Regions from separate parts of the Homo sapiens genome. Here regions 1, 3 and 4 are each linked to region 2. The links are contacts of gene promoters, found by promoter capture Hi-C in blood cells and fetal thymus (Javierre and others, 2016). All regions are on one chromosome and are shown on one strand. The core of a region is centred on a gene start or on the middle of the fragment in contact, and the rest is flanking DNA. Distances in the headings are between cores, read along the strand shown. Region 1 holds the start of DPP7 (dipeptidyl peptidase 7). Region 2 overlaps RABL6 (RAB, member RAS oncogene family like 6). Region 3 holds the start of RNF208 (ring finger protein 208). Region 4 holds the start of TMEM203 (transmembrane protein 203).

Region 1 (3,067 bases), core at 171-2,670, 300 kb before region 2:
GGAAACCCTGCTCCTGGAGCCCTCCCTGAGGCTCTGGCCCCTCTGTGGGCCCAGCCAAGCCTGGAGCGTCTCCAGGCTCTGGTGTGCTTGGGGAGCTGGCCAGCTCTCGGCCTAGCTGGCGTCTCCAGAGCTGCGGTCCTGGGTGAGGGTTGCTGGTGGAGTTCTGGCCACCTAAGGCACCCGAGGGAGCCAAAGGAGCAGAGGTGTGGGGTGGGGGACGCCGTGGGGTACCTCCACATCCAAGGAGGTCTGCTGTTTGTCCTCACCCCCGTCCTGCGGGGGCCCCGGCAGGCAGCCCCAGGAACTGCGTAGGGATGGGACAGGGCCCAGATGTGAGGGCCGTGGTGGGGACGGTGTGTGGCCCTGGATGACCTCGTGTTGCAGTGTGACGTGATGGTCACTGCCACCATGCTGAGGGCCCCAGCCACCAGTCACCCACCATGGGGGGTGCCTCTGTGTGAGGCACGGGAGGGCCATGGCGTGAGGGGCTGTGGAAGTGGCCGGTCTTCTCCGCTCAGCCCCACACAGGATGGGCAGGGCAGGGTCATGCTGGCCGAGGGTAGTCTTGGGAGAAGGACAGGGTAACTCTCTGTAGCTGAGCCCCTGCTGCCCCTGCACCTGTTCTGGGCCTGGCTAGCGGCCCATGTACATCCCCAGCAGGACTCCACGTAGCTAGTCTGGCACCCACCACTACGGCCCCCTCACCCACTCCCTGAACTGGACGCTGGGGAAAGGTGACTTCTTCCATCCTCTGGGTGCTCCCCAGGGAGGAGGCCCCAGCTCCCAGCAGAGGCCTCTGGTCCCCCCTTGTCCCTGCAGGGCTGTGTGGGCACACTGGGTGCCAGTCGGAAGGGCAGGTGGCGATTCCCAGCTCTTGGGAGCTACCCGGCCACATCCCGGCCCTGCCCAGACGCTCCAGGGGCACCCCACACTCCTGCCCGCTGCGAGGCCCCGCCCCGCCAAGCCCAGCCCGTTATCGCTTGGACAAACCCTGGGTTGCTTTCTTCGGGGGGCCAGCACTCTGTTTGGGACCCTCTCCCTCCCGCCCTTAGGGCAGCAGAACGGCCCCCACTCTCCCGGCCCTGCCTTGGAGTGGGGCACCTGCCAGGAGCAAGTGCTGGGGAGGCTTGGCGGGCGCAGCAGGGACTCGCCCTAGCGCAGCTCCGGATGGGGCCGCGGTAGGAGGACGAGCCAGTGGGGCGGGAGGCCGCGGAGATGGCCCGGGGGCCCTCTGCTTCCCCGCGCCGTGCCCGGGAAGGACCCCTGGGCAGCGGCCGCGGGGCGCGGGGTGTTGGGGGGCACAGCCCCGGCGCGGCGCTGAAGCAGCGACGGTCTCCGTGGGGACCGCGGGCGCCCGAAACACGTGGGGCCTGGAGGGAGGAGCGCGCCCTGGCGGCCCCGTGACCCCGCCCACGTGACGGGCGCCCGCGGAAGGCGACATGGGCTCCGCTCCCTGGGCCCCGGTCCTGCTGCTGGCGCTCGGGCTGCGCGGCCTCCAGGCGGGGGGTGAGTGGCGGCGCCCCCCGGCCCATTCCCCGGTCCCGGCCCCGCCTCTGAGGTTCGCGTCCCCCCACAGCCCGCAGGGCCCCGGACCCCGGCTTCCAGGAGCGCTTCTTCCAGCAGCGTCTGGACCACTTCAACTTCGAGCGCTTCGGCAACAAGACCTTCCCTCAGCGCTTCCTGGTGTCGGGTGAGACCCCGGCCCCGGCCCGGCCGCCCCCGCCGTCCCGCCGCCCCCCGGCACCCTCGCCTCATCCGCCCTCCCCACAGACAGGTTCTGGGTCCGGGGCGAGGGGCCCATCTTCTTCTACACTGGGAACGAGGGCGACGTGTGGGCCTTCGCCAACAACTCGGCCTTCGTCGCGGAGCTGGCGGCCGAGCGGGGGGCTCTACTGGTCTTCGCGGAGCACGTGGGTGCCGGGCGGGGTCGCGGGCGGGGTCGCGGGGCACGTGGGTGCCGGGCGGGGTCGCGGGCGGGGGTCGCGGGGCACGCGGGTGCCGGGCGGGGTCGCGGGCGGGGGTCGCGGGGCACGCGGGTGCCGGGCGGGGTCGCGGGCGGGGGTCGCGGGGCACGCGGGTGCCGGGCGGGGTCGCGGGGCCGGGCTCAATGGCACGTTCCCCCAGCGCTACTACGGGAAGTCGCTGCCGTTCGGTGCGCAGTCCACGCAGCGCGGGCACACGGAGCTGCTGACGGTGGAGCAGGCCCTGGCCGACTTCGCAGAGCTGCTCCGCGCGCTACGACGCGACCTCGGGGCCCAGGATGCCCCCGCCATCGCCTTCGGTGGAAGGTGGGCGCCTCCCCCGGCCTCCGCACCCCCTCCCTCCCCTGCCCCGACCCAGCGCCCCCAGCCCTTCTCCCCACTCCCCTCTGACTCCCACCGCTGCCTTTTCGTAAGGCCTCAGGCAGTGGTTCCAGGCTTAGTGTTGCCTCCCCCAGGAAGCCCTCCCACCTGTCCTCCCAGCCACCTGCTCAGCTTGGATGTGCGGCCACACTAGCGGCCTTTCCCAGTGAGAGCTGCACCCGCACCTGGCCCAGGGTTGGAATTTGTGGGTCTCAGAAGTGTCGTCCTCCTTGTGGCACCTGTGGGCCCCTGAGGAGGAAAAGAGGAAATGGGGTGTTGGGGGCAGCAGCCCTAACCCTGTGTCCCTCACCCAGTTATGGGGGGATGCTCAGTGCCTACCTGAGGATGAAGTATCCCCACCTGGTGGCGGGGGCGCTGGCGGCCAGCGCGCCCGTTCTAGCTGTGGCAGGCCTCGGCGACTCCAACCAGTTCTTCCGGGACGTCACGGCGGTGAGTGAGGCTTGGGGTCCTCCAGGCCCCCTAAGGGACAGCAGCTGCAGTCAGCACGGTCTCTTTCCCCCAGGACTTTGAGGGCCAGAGTCCCAAATGCACCCAGGGTGTGCGGGAAGCGTTCCGACAGATCAAGGACTTGTTCCTACAGGGAGGTGAGGTCCTCCCACCGCCTCCCACTGCCTGACCCGCCCCAGCGCCAGCTATGCCCAAACTTCAAGTCTCTGCCCCTTCCACGCAGCCTACGACACGGTCCGCTGGGAGTTCGGCACCTG
Region 2 (2,890 bases), core at 20-2,519:
GAAGGGACACCCCAGCCAAGGGGGCAAAGAACGGCAAGAACGCCAAGAAGGAAGACAGCGATGAGGAGGAGGATGACTCTGAACCAGCAGTGATGAAGGCAGCAGCGGGTGCCCCTGCCTCAGGGGATGAGGACGAGGACGATGAGGACGATGCTGAGGAAGATGGCTCTGAAGCAGCACCTATGGAAACAACACCAGCCAAAGGAAAGAAAGCTTCTACAAATGCTGTTCCTGGGAAAGCCAAGAGGATGGCTGGGAATGAAGATGAAGAGGATGATGAGGACAAGGACGAGGGTGACGATGATGAAGAGGATGAAGTGATGAAGACGACAAAGAGGAGGAAGGGTCTGTCAAAGAAGCACCTGGAAAATGAAGGAAATGACCAAACAGCAGCTTCTGAAGCCAAGAAACACAAAGTGGAGAGTGAGAAGCACAGAACCAACTGTGCCTTTTTTTTTTTTTTAAGACAGGGTCTCACTCTCTCGCCCAGGTTGGACTGCAGTGGCGCAATCTTGGCTCACTGCAACCTTCACCTGCCAGGCTCAAGTGATTCTCCTGCTTCAGCCTCCTGAGTAGCTGGGATTACAGGCGTGTACCACTACCACCCGGCTAATTTTTGTATTTTTAGTAGAGACGGGGTTTCACCATGTTGGCCAGGCTGGAACGTCTTTCAATCTTTGTTGGAAACCTGAACTTTAACAAGTCTGCTCCTGAGTTAAAAACTAGTATCCATGGGCCAGGCCTGGTGGCTCACGCCTGTAATCCCAGCACTTTGGGAGGCTGAGGTGGACAGATCACAAGGTCAGGAGTTTGAGACCAGCCTGGCCAACATAATGAAACCCTGTCTCTACTAAAAATACAAAAATTAGCCGGGCGTAGTGGTGCGTGCCTGTAGTCCCAGCTACTGGGGAGGCTGAGGCAGGAGAATCACTTGAACCCGGGAGGTGGAAGCTGCAGTGAGCACCATTGCACTCCAGCCTGGGTAACAGAGCAAGACCCTGTCTCGAAAAAGAAAGAAAAACAAAAACTAGTATCCATGATATTTTTGCTAAAAATGATCTTGCTGTTGTGGATGTCAGAATGGGTATGACAAGGAAATCTGACTATGTGGATTTTCAAGCTGCTGAAGACCTGGAAAGAGCCTTGGAACTCGCTGGTTTGAAAGACTTTGGCAATGAAATTAAACTAGAGAAACCAAAAGGAAAAGACAGTAAGAAAGAGCAAGATGTGAGAATACTTTTGGCTACAAATCTCCCTTACAAAGTCACTCAGGATGAATTACAAGTGTTTTGGCTGGGCGCAGTGGCGCAGTGGCTCACACCTGTAATCCCAGCACTTTGGGAGGCCAAGGCAGGCAGATCACGAGGTCAGGAGATCAAGACCATCCTGGCTAACACGGTGAAACCCTGTCTCTACTAAAAATACAAAAAATTAGCTGGGTGTGGTGACGGGTGCCTGTAGTCCCAGCTACTCGGGAGGCTGAGGCAGGAAAATGGCGCAAACTTGGGAGGTGGAGCTTGCAGTGAGCTGAGATCACGGCCACTGCACTCCAGCCTGGGCAACAGAGCGAGACTCTGGCTCAAAAAACAAAAAAGTGTTTGAAGATGCTGTGGAGATTGGATTAGTCAGCAAGGATGGGAAGAGTAAAGGGACTGCTTATATTGAGGTTAAGACAGAAGCTAATGCAGAGAAAACTTCTGAAGAAACGCAGGGAACAGAGATGGATGGCCGATCTATTTCCCTGCACTATCATGGAGAGAAAGGTCTAAATCAAGACTAGAGAGACCACTTGGAGGGGTGAATCAAAAACTCTGGTTTAAGCAACCTCTCCTACAGTGCAACAGAAGAAACTCTTCAGAAAGAATCTGAGACAAGGCAACTTTTATCAAAGTGCCCCAGAACCAAAATGGCAAATCTAAAGGGTGTGCATGCACTTACAGTTCGCTTCATTTGAAGATGATAAAGCAGCTTTAAATTCCTGTAATAAAAGGGAAACTGGGGGCAGGGCAATCAGGCTGGAGTTGCAAGGACCACCTGATGCCAGGAGCCAGCCATCTAAAACTGTCTGTCAAAGGCCTGTCTGAGGACACCACTGAAGAGGCTTTAGTCATTCGACAGCTTTGTTGGGCAAGGGTAGTCACCAACCAGGAAACCGGGTGCCCCAAAGGCTTTGGCTCTGTAGATGGCAACAGTGAGGAGGATGCCAAAAGCGCCAAGGAGGCCGCGGAAGATGGTGAAATTGAGGGAAACAAAGGTAACTTGGACTGGGCCAAACCTAAGGGCGAAGGTGGCTTTGGGGTTGTGATGGAGGTAGAGGAAGCTTTGGAGGATGAGGTGGTGGCAGAAGCCAGGAAGGCTTTGGTGGGCGAGGCAGCTTCTGGGGAGGCAGAGGTGACCACAAGCCACAAGGAAAGAAGACAAAGTTTGAACGGCTTCTGTCCCTTTGTCTTTCCCTCTCCCATTTGAAAGAAAGGACGCTGGGGTTTTTATTCCGTTACCTGATCAATGACAGAGCTCTCTGAGGACATTCCAAGACAGTCTACAGTCCTGTGGTCTCCTTGGAAATTCGTATAGACAACATTTCAAGGGTAATACCTTCCTTGTTTGTTTTGACTGGATATTCATATAAACTTTTCTTTCTTTTCTTTTTTTTTTAAGACGAAGTCTCACTCTGTCGCCCAGGCTGGAGCGCAGTGGTGTGATCTTGGCTCACGGCAACCTCTGCCTCCCGGGTTCAAGCGATTCTCCTGCCTCAGCCTCCCGAGTAGCTGGGATTACAGGCATACGCCACCACACCTGGCTAATTTTCATATTTTCAGTAGAGATGAGTTTCATCATGTTGGCCAGGTTGGTCTTGAACTCCTGACCTCATGTAATCCGCCCACCTCAG
Region 3 (3,150 bases), core at 230-2,729, 410 kb before region 2:
CCGGCGACGGAAGTCCACTGCGCAGGCGCCGGAAGTCCCGCCCACCTCCCTGCCTGCCACTTGAGTGGCGCCTATGGCGCATGCGCAAACAAGGCAGGAACCGGCCGTGGAAATATTATTGCCCAGAAGCCCACGCGCTCCGGGGTTTCCCGAAAGACCCGGTTCGGATGTGACCAATACTCGGCTTGGGGTTCTCCAGCTCTGAATGGCGGGTCTGAAAAGGCCTGGCCTGGGGGGCGGGGCCTCGTGGCGGGGGCGGGATCTCATCCCCTACGGGGTGGGGTCTCGCTGAGGGGGCGGGGCCTGCGGCCTGGTGCTTCCTCGGGCGCACGCCGGGTCGGTGAGCAGAGTCTGCGGCGGAGCTGGGCTCCCGGCCCTCCCCAGGCCCAGGCTGCCTCAGTTGCCCCACCATCTTGCCAGGGCCCCGTAAGGACCCCTCCAGCAGCGCCCCTGTCACCCGCACACCTCTCCCTATTGCTCTTCTGAGTGACACTCGCCCGAGGCCCCACAGAGGGGCCAAGCCAGACCCTATGCGCAGGGCTGCTCCTCCAGCCTGTTTTGCCCACGCGAGCTCCCGCACCAGCGGCACCGTCCCCTCTGGGCTCAGCACTCTGCAGGCCCTGGGGCTCTGCCTAGAGCAGGTGCGGTCTGGCCAGTCCAGCGGAGAGAGGAGCTGAAGGAGGCCAGGATGTCCAGGGCCAGGTGCGGGGCCAGAGCTGGTCACAGCGTGGCAGCGGAGGCCCTCGAAGCCCTGGTCCCCTGCCTCACGGTGACCAGCAAGCCCGAGGGCTCCACAGGCAGAAGGCGGACCCAGGAGGGCAGGGAAGCCCCGGGTGAGGAAGCGGAGAGGCCCGGGCCTGCGCGCTGGAGTGCCAGGGGCCACCCTGTCCGGGCAGGTGCGGTCCTCAGGGCCGCCTCCACCCCGCACTGGGCTGCCAGCCTGTCCTTCGCGCACTCCCACCGGACCCGTCCGTCCACCGGCCTCGGCCTTCTGATCCGCTCCGCCCGCCCCGCTCTTGCCCCTTAGAGTCACAGCGATCTATCTGAGCTACGGCACCGGGCACAGGCGGAGCTGGAGGACTCGGGGCCTTCCCATGGGGCGGGGGGCCGGGGACGGGGGAAGGCACCGGTGGGCCCTGGAACCAGCTCCCCTGGGATCCTCCGCGCAGGTCCCCTCCCTCTCACTCCAGAGTCCTGAGGCCTCCTACTGTGAGGGAGGAGAACAGCCGGATTCTCCTCCTGAATCTGGGGGGGCGGGGGCTTGACCAGGACCCAGGATCAGCCTGGAGAGAACTGGGGGCGACGCGGGGGTCCTGCCCCCCACGCAGTCCGCGGGCGAGAGCGACGCCGGGAGCGGACCGAGGGGCGGCCGGGAGGCTGGCCCCGCCCCGCGGACCCCGCGCGGGTCCCCAGACGGGGGGTGGCGCTGCGGGCGCGGGCGGGCGCCGCGCGCACTGCGGTCCCCGCGCCTCCGCCGCAGAGCGCGCCACGCTCCGCACGCACCTGCCGCCGTCGCCGCCGTGCCGAAACCCGCGCCCCGCGCCCCACGCCCGCGCCCGCGCCCCTCGGTGCCGCCCGGGCCCCGCCATCGCCTGAGGTCGCTGCGGCCGCCGCCGGAGCCGCCGGAGCCCCCCGAGCTGCCGGGCCGAGGCGCGGGCGCCGCGTCCGGGCCTGCCTTTGAGACAACCTCTGCGGCGGCGGCGCGCGGCCGGGACGCCAGGCTGGGGCAGGTGAGCGCAGGGGGCGGGGGCCGGGGGCGGACTCAGCGCCCCTCCCCACGCGACGGGGGTCGGCCCTCGGGAAGGTGCGTCTGGCCTTGGAGGCGGGGACCGGGGAGGGGGTTGGGTTCTGAGGCCCGCGGAGGTCGGGATCCCACGGCTGAGGTCAGGGTCAGAGGTCGGGCGCCCGGTCCTTTGTGCAGGGCGAGGGCTAGGGTGGGGGTGGCCGGGGCACTGCCCTCATGCCGTCTCTCACCTGCAGCTCAGGCCTGGCCCAGGCCTCGCCTCTGCTCCTGCCGCGGAGCCTGCCGCCCCGGTCCTCCTGCAGCCAGCGCTTCGGCTAGCTGCCTTCCCTGGGCGCCCTGTCCTGGAGCCATGGGGCCCACCCAGCCCCTGCCTGCCCCGATGTCCCGGCCCGCGGCCTGCTGACCTCGGCTGCAGGGGGAGCCCCCCCCGCGCCCCCTCGCCAGCCTCAGCAGCCAGAGACCCTGGGTGAGACCCTGGGCCAGACCCCCAGCCCAGGGCAGCCTCCCACCCCTCCCTGCCCCCGCCTGCCTCCCCCTCCCCCACCCCTTCCTCCTCCTCCCAGGACTGGACCAGAGAAGCCACTGTGGCCACTGGGGGGGGCCCTGCACCCCCAACTCTCGCCGGCTGTCCCTAGGAGTCCACGGGCCGTCCGGGGCCCCCCCCAGGCCTGGCGGGACCAGGATGCTGCCCTGTCACCTGCCCCCCAGCCCCACACAACGCCCCCACCCACCCGAACATCCAGTCTGACTGGAGACAGCCGGATGCCCTCTGACCCCGGGCCCGAGGCGGGCAGTGGCTGGCCGGGCCTCCTCATGTCCTGCCTGAAGGGTCCCCATGTCATCCTCAAGATGGAGGCCATGAAGATTGTCCACCCTGAAAAGTTCCCTGAGCTACCGGCTGCCCCCTGCTTCCCGCCTGCTCCCCGGCCCACCCCAACTCTGGCACCCAAGCGTGCCTGGCCCTCAGACACAGAGATCATTGTCAACCAGGCCTGTGGGGGGGACATGCCTGCCTTGGAAGGGGCACCCCATACCCCGCCACTGCCACGGCGGCCCCGTAAGGGAAGCTCGGAGCTGGGCTTTCCCCGCGTGGCCCCAGAGGATGAGGTCATTGTGAATCAGTACGTGATTCGGCCTGGCCCCTCGGCCTCGGCGGCTTCTTCGGCGGCGGCAGGCGAGCCCCTGGAGTGCCCCACCTGTGGGCACTCCTACAATGTCACCCAGCGGAGGCCCCGCGTGCTGTCCTGCCTGCACTCTGTGTGTGAGCAGTGCCTGCAGATTCTCTACGAGTCCTGCCCCAAGTACAAGTTCATCTCCTGCCCCACCTGCCGCCGTGAGACTGTGCTCTTCACCGACTACGGCCTGGCCGCGCTGGCTGTCAACACGTCCATCCTGAGCCGCCTGCC
Region 4 (3,109 bases), core at 157-2,656, 390 kb before region 2:
GGCCTGGCTTCCTGCCTCTCTTCTCCTCCCCTCTTGCCCCAGTGTACTCCTCAGCTTGGCCACCCTGAGCTGCTTTCCACTTTTCACACAAACCAAATCATCTTTTTCCTCTGCGCTGACTGCTCCTTCTTCCTCGGTGCCTGACTAGCCCTCACGCATCCTTCCGTGACTCAGCTTACACTCTTTTCTTCCAGAAACCTCTGCCTGGGCCCCAAGGTTGGGTGAGATAAGGCTCGATGCCCCTTATCAGTGCTCCTGTGACATATGCTACTTTCCCCAGCAGCAGGTGTTTGCTGGCACTGTCATTGCCCGTTAGCTGCTTCTGCTACAGTGTGAACTCTGCCAGGATGGAAATATGGCTGCTGGGTTCACAGCTGGATCCCCAGCACCAGACTGTGCCAAGAATAGAATATGTGCTTAAAAGATGGTCAGAGAATTCAGCAACGTTCCCTGAGGGTCATACAGTCTAGAAATACACACAAGACCCAGACTAGATGCACATATAGATAGCCCTGGAAAAATAAGAAAGGTTAAAACGGATAATAAGGCTATTTGGTGGCTACGACGAGTTTATTAGAGAGGGCAACCGGAGCCCCCAGCCCCACTCACGGACGTTCTCTCAAATCCACCTCTGAAGGTGCATGAGATAAAGGAGAGCTATTTACTGCACCTAGACGCCAGGCAATGAAAACGGGGTGAGGGTCGAGGGCAGGGATCTGAGGAGCCACATCAGGCCAGCCTTACCTTCATGTTGTCAGGGGGGTCTCCTTGGCCTGTAGTTGCACAAACAAATATCACCAGGGGCTCGTTAATCAGATTCACCTCAACAAAAAGACACACACACGTAAGACCTCCGGCTGTAAGGACCGGGCGTCCTTCCCAAAACTTGACCCCCTTCTCCTTTACTCAGGCTGACAGGGCAGAGGGATTTATGTGAGCAGCCAGACCGTCTTCTCTTTCAGGTTCCAACCTCCTCCAGGTGCTAAACTGAACTCCCCTTCCCAAACCTCCTTCCCTAAATCCGCCATAAGGGAAAGACCCGCTCTCAGAGAAAATGCGACGCCTTTTGGGTCGATGACCCCGCGAGGCGGGCACGCCAGGCCTGCTCGTCCCCCACGCCGAGGCCCTAGCGAGCCCTCACCACCGGGTAGGAGTCCAGGGCCTGCACCCGGCAGCCAAGCCGCCGGCGCCGGGCCTCGCGACCCAGTCTCTCCGACACATCCTGAGCCGTGCCTGTCTGGCTGCCGAAGAGCACCAGAAGCTGCGGGCTCGGCATCGGGGTGCGCCCGGTGGTCTGGTCTGAGACTAAAAACTAGAAGGCAGTTCCCGCCGGCCGGGTTGCAGGGACCGCTCCGCCTTCCGCCTTCCGCCGTCGACCGGAAGTGACGCACTAGGGACGCGCCCTGTGGGGGCATGGCGTCCGATCGAGGCGGGCGTTCACGGGCGGCCAGGGTTGAGTCCCGGGTCGGGGCCGGGGGATTGCCGGCGCATCAGGGCCGAGGGCTGGGGCTGGCGGGGCCGCTCGCTGCCTCTCGCTCGCAGCAGCGGCGGCAGGCGCGGGCGAGGGCCACGGGGAGAGGAGACGCAGCCCCGCGGGTGGCACGCTCGGCCGGGCCCCGGCCCGCGCTCAACGGGCGCGATGCTCTTCTCGCTCCGGGAGCTGGTGCAGTGGCTAGGCTTCGCCACCTTCGAGATCTTCGTGCACCTGCTGGCCCTGTTGGTGTTCTCTGTGCTGCTGGCACTGCGTGTGGATGGCCTGGTCCCGGGCCTCTCCTGGTGGAACGTGTTCGTGCCTTTCTTCGCCGCTGACGGGCTCAGCACCTACTTCACCACCATCGTGTCCGTGCGCCTCTTCCAGGATGGAGAGAAGCGGCTGGCGGTGCTCCGCCTTTTCTGGGTACTTACGGTCCTGAGTCTCAAGTTCGTCTTCGAGATGCTGTTGTGCCAGAAGCTGGCGGAGCAGACTCGGGAGCTCTGGTTCGGCCTCATTACGTCCCCGCTCTTCATTCTCCTGCAGCTGCTCATGATCCGCGCCTGTCGGGTCAACTAGCCTCACCGAGGTGCCGGAGAGGGAGCGCTGGACAACTAGAATGTTGACCTCGAGCCGAGGCCCTACTTGCAGCGCACCGGAGGAGAGGCTCTCTAGTCTGAAGGCACCGCCGGCTTGCGCCGAGCTGAGTGCCGGGTTTCCCTATTCCAATCCTGTTTGAAATGGTTTCTTCAGCAGGGCTTAAAAGAGCAGCCTTCATCCTGAAAATGTATTTCCTTTTGTTTAATGCTTTGAGTAGATAATCCTGAATTGAGGTCATGAGGAGGCCCCCCAGGCCAGACAGTCCTGAACCCCTCTGACACTTGGAAACTGAATATAAGTAAAATGTCCAGGTGGACTCTGAGTATTTCCTGTGGATCCTGGGAAAGTACTGTTGCACAAAGGCTGCAAAGCTGGACTCAGGAATGTCCTCCAACCAGCAGCGCTGACCTAAGAGCTCCCTGTGCCGTCTATCCAGACCAGACTTCGGTAGATGCCTTTGTTAGATCTATCACATGTAAACGAGCTTGTATCTCCTTCCCTGTGCCACGAGAGAGATTGGCTTTTTATTCCAGTCTAGGCAGAGACAGAAGAATGTTGAATAAGAGCACGATTAGAGTCCTGTCTGGTTATCTGTTGCCCAAGAAAAGAACTCTGCTGTCCAGGCACTGCTTGGCTTACTATCCCAGCAAAGACTGCAGTTTTGTGGACTTTTGACCACCTTGGGCTGGCACTCTTAGCACACCTGAGACAGATTTAAGCCTCCCTAAGAGACTGAAGAGAGGAACAGGTGTCAGATACTCATAGGCACTGAGATCTACAAATGGGAAGCTTGTGAGTGGCCCATCTTTGTTGGCCTACGAACTTTGGTTTGATGCCAGTCAGGTGCCACATGAGAACCTTTGCTGAGATGCAAATAAAGTAAGAGAATGTTTTCCTGAAATGAATAGTGGTTGCCTGTAACCCTCAAGGGTTAAATAGGATGAATATTGAGATACTCTCTGCTACGTGGTGTAGCTGGTTACAGAGCTGCGGTTTTAAATGGATTGAAACCTGTGGCTAGAGCTTAGTGGATGGTGG

What was found. The method cuts DNA at HindIII sites, captures the fragments that hold promoters and counts their contacts. A CHiCAGO score of 5 or more calls a contact.
Region 1: the fragment with the promoter of DPP7 here is called in contact with a fragment that was not itself captured in region 2 in 3 of 17 cell types (non-activated CD4 T cells, total CD8 T cells and naive B cells); the score reaches 5.4 in non-activated CD4 T cells.
Region 3: a contact is called between the fragment with the promoter of RNF208 here and a fragment that was not itself captured in region 2, in 3 of 17 cell types (naive B cells, total B cells and non-activated CD4 T cells). The highest score is 7.4, in naive B cells.
Region 4: the fragment with the promoter of TMEM203 here is called in contact with a fragment that was not itself captured in region 2 in 1 of 17 cell types (M2 macrophages); the score reaches 5.2 in M2 macrophages.

The regions. Positions count from the first base shown.
Region 1 is chr9:137,113,086-137,116,152 of GRCh38, reverse strand. It overlaps DPP7 (dipeptidyl peptidase 7), which reads left to right and starts at 1,420. Exons shown (of 13, transcript NM_013379.3): 1 at 1,420-1,506; 2 at 1,577-1,690; 3 at 1,771-1,910; 4 at 2,125-2,288; 5 at 2,657-2,792; 6 at 2,866-2,947; 7 at 3,034-3,067. The coding sequence starts at 1,440. It overlaps LOC124902314 (a long non-coding RNA gene), which reads right to left and starts at 1,354. Exons shown (of 2, transcript XR_007061874.1): 1 at 1-1,354. RefSeq lists silencers at 1,195-1,544, 1,575-1,724. The HindIII fragment of the contact is 32,578 bases long and covers 1-3,067 here.
Region 2 is chr9:136,812,324-136,815,213 of GRCh38, reverse strand. All of the region lies in intron 1 of RABL6 (RAB, member RAS oncogene family like 6), which reads right to left. It also overlaps the pseudogene NCLP1. Among named protein-coding and RNA genes, the nearest start is that of CCDC183-AS1, 4.9 kb to the right of the region's middle. The HindIII fragment of the contact is 2,107 bases long and covers 216-2,322 here.
Region 3 is chr9:137,220,569-137,223,718 of GRCh38, reverse strand. RNF208 (ring finger protein 208) reads left to right here and starts at 1,479. Exons shown (of 2, transcript NM_031297.7): 1 at 1,479-1,730; 2 at 1,981-3,150. The coding sequence starts at 2,507. RefSeq lists silencers at 227-576, 887-936, 1,877-1,926. The HindIII fragment of the contact is 9,789 bases long and covers 1-3,150 here.
Region 4 is chr9:137,203,945-137,207,053 of GRCh38, reverse strand. TMEM203 (transmembrane protein 203) reads left to right here and starts at 1,406. Exons shown (of 1, transcript NM_053045.2): 1 at 1,406-2,972. The coding sequence starts at 1,640. The coding sequence ends at 2,050. It overlaps NDOR1 (NADPH dependent diflavin oxidoreductase 1), which reads right to left and starts at 1,354. Exons shown (of 14, transcript NM_014434.4): 1 at 1,142-1,354; 2 at 745-822. The coding sequence starts at 1,276. RefSeq lists a silencer at 1,391-1,650. The HindIII fragment of the contact is 6,239 bases long and covers 1-2,862 here.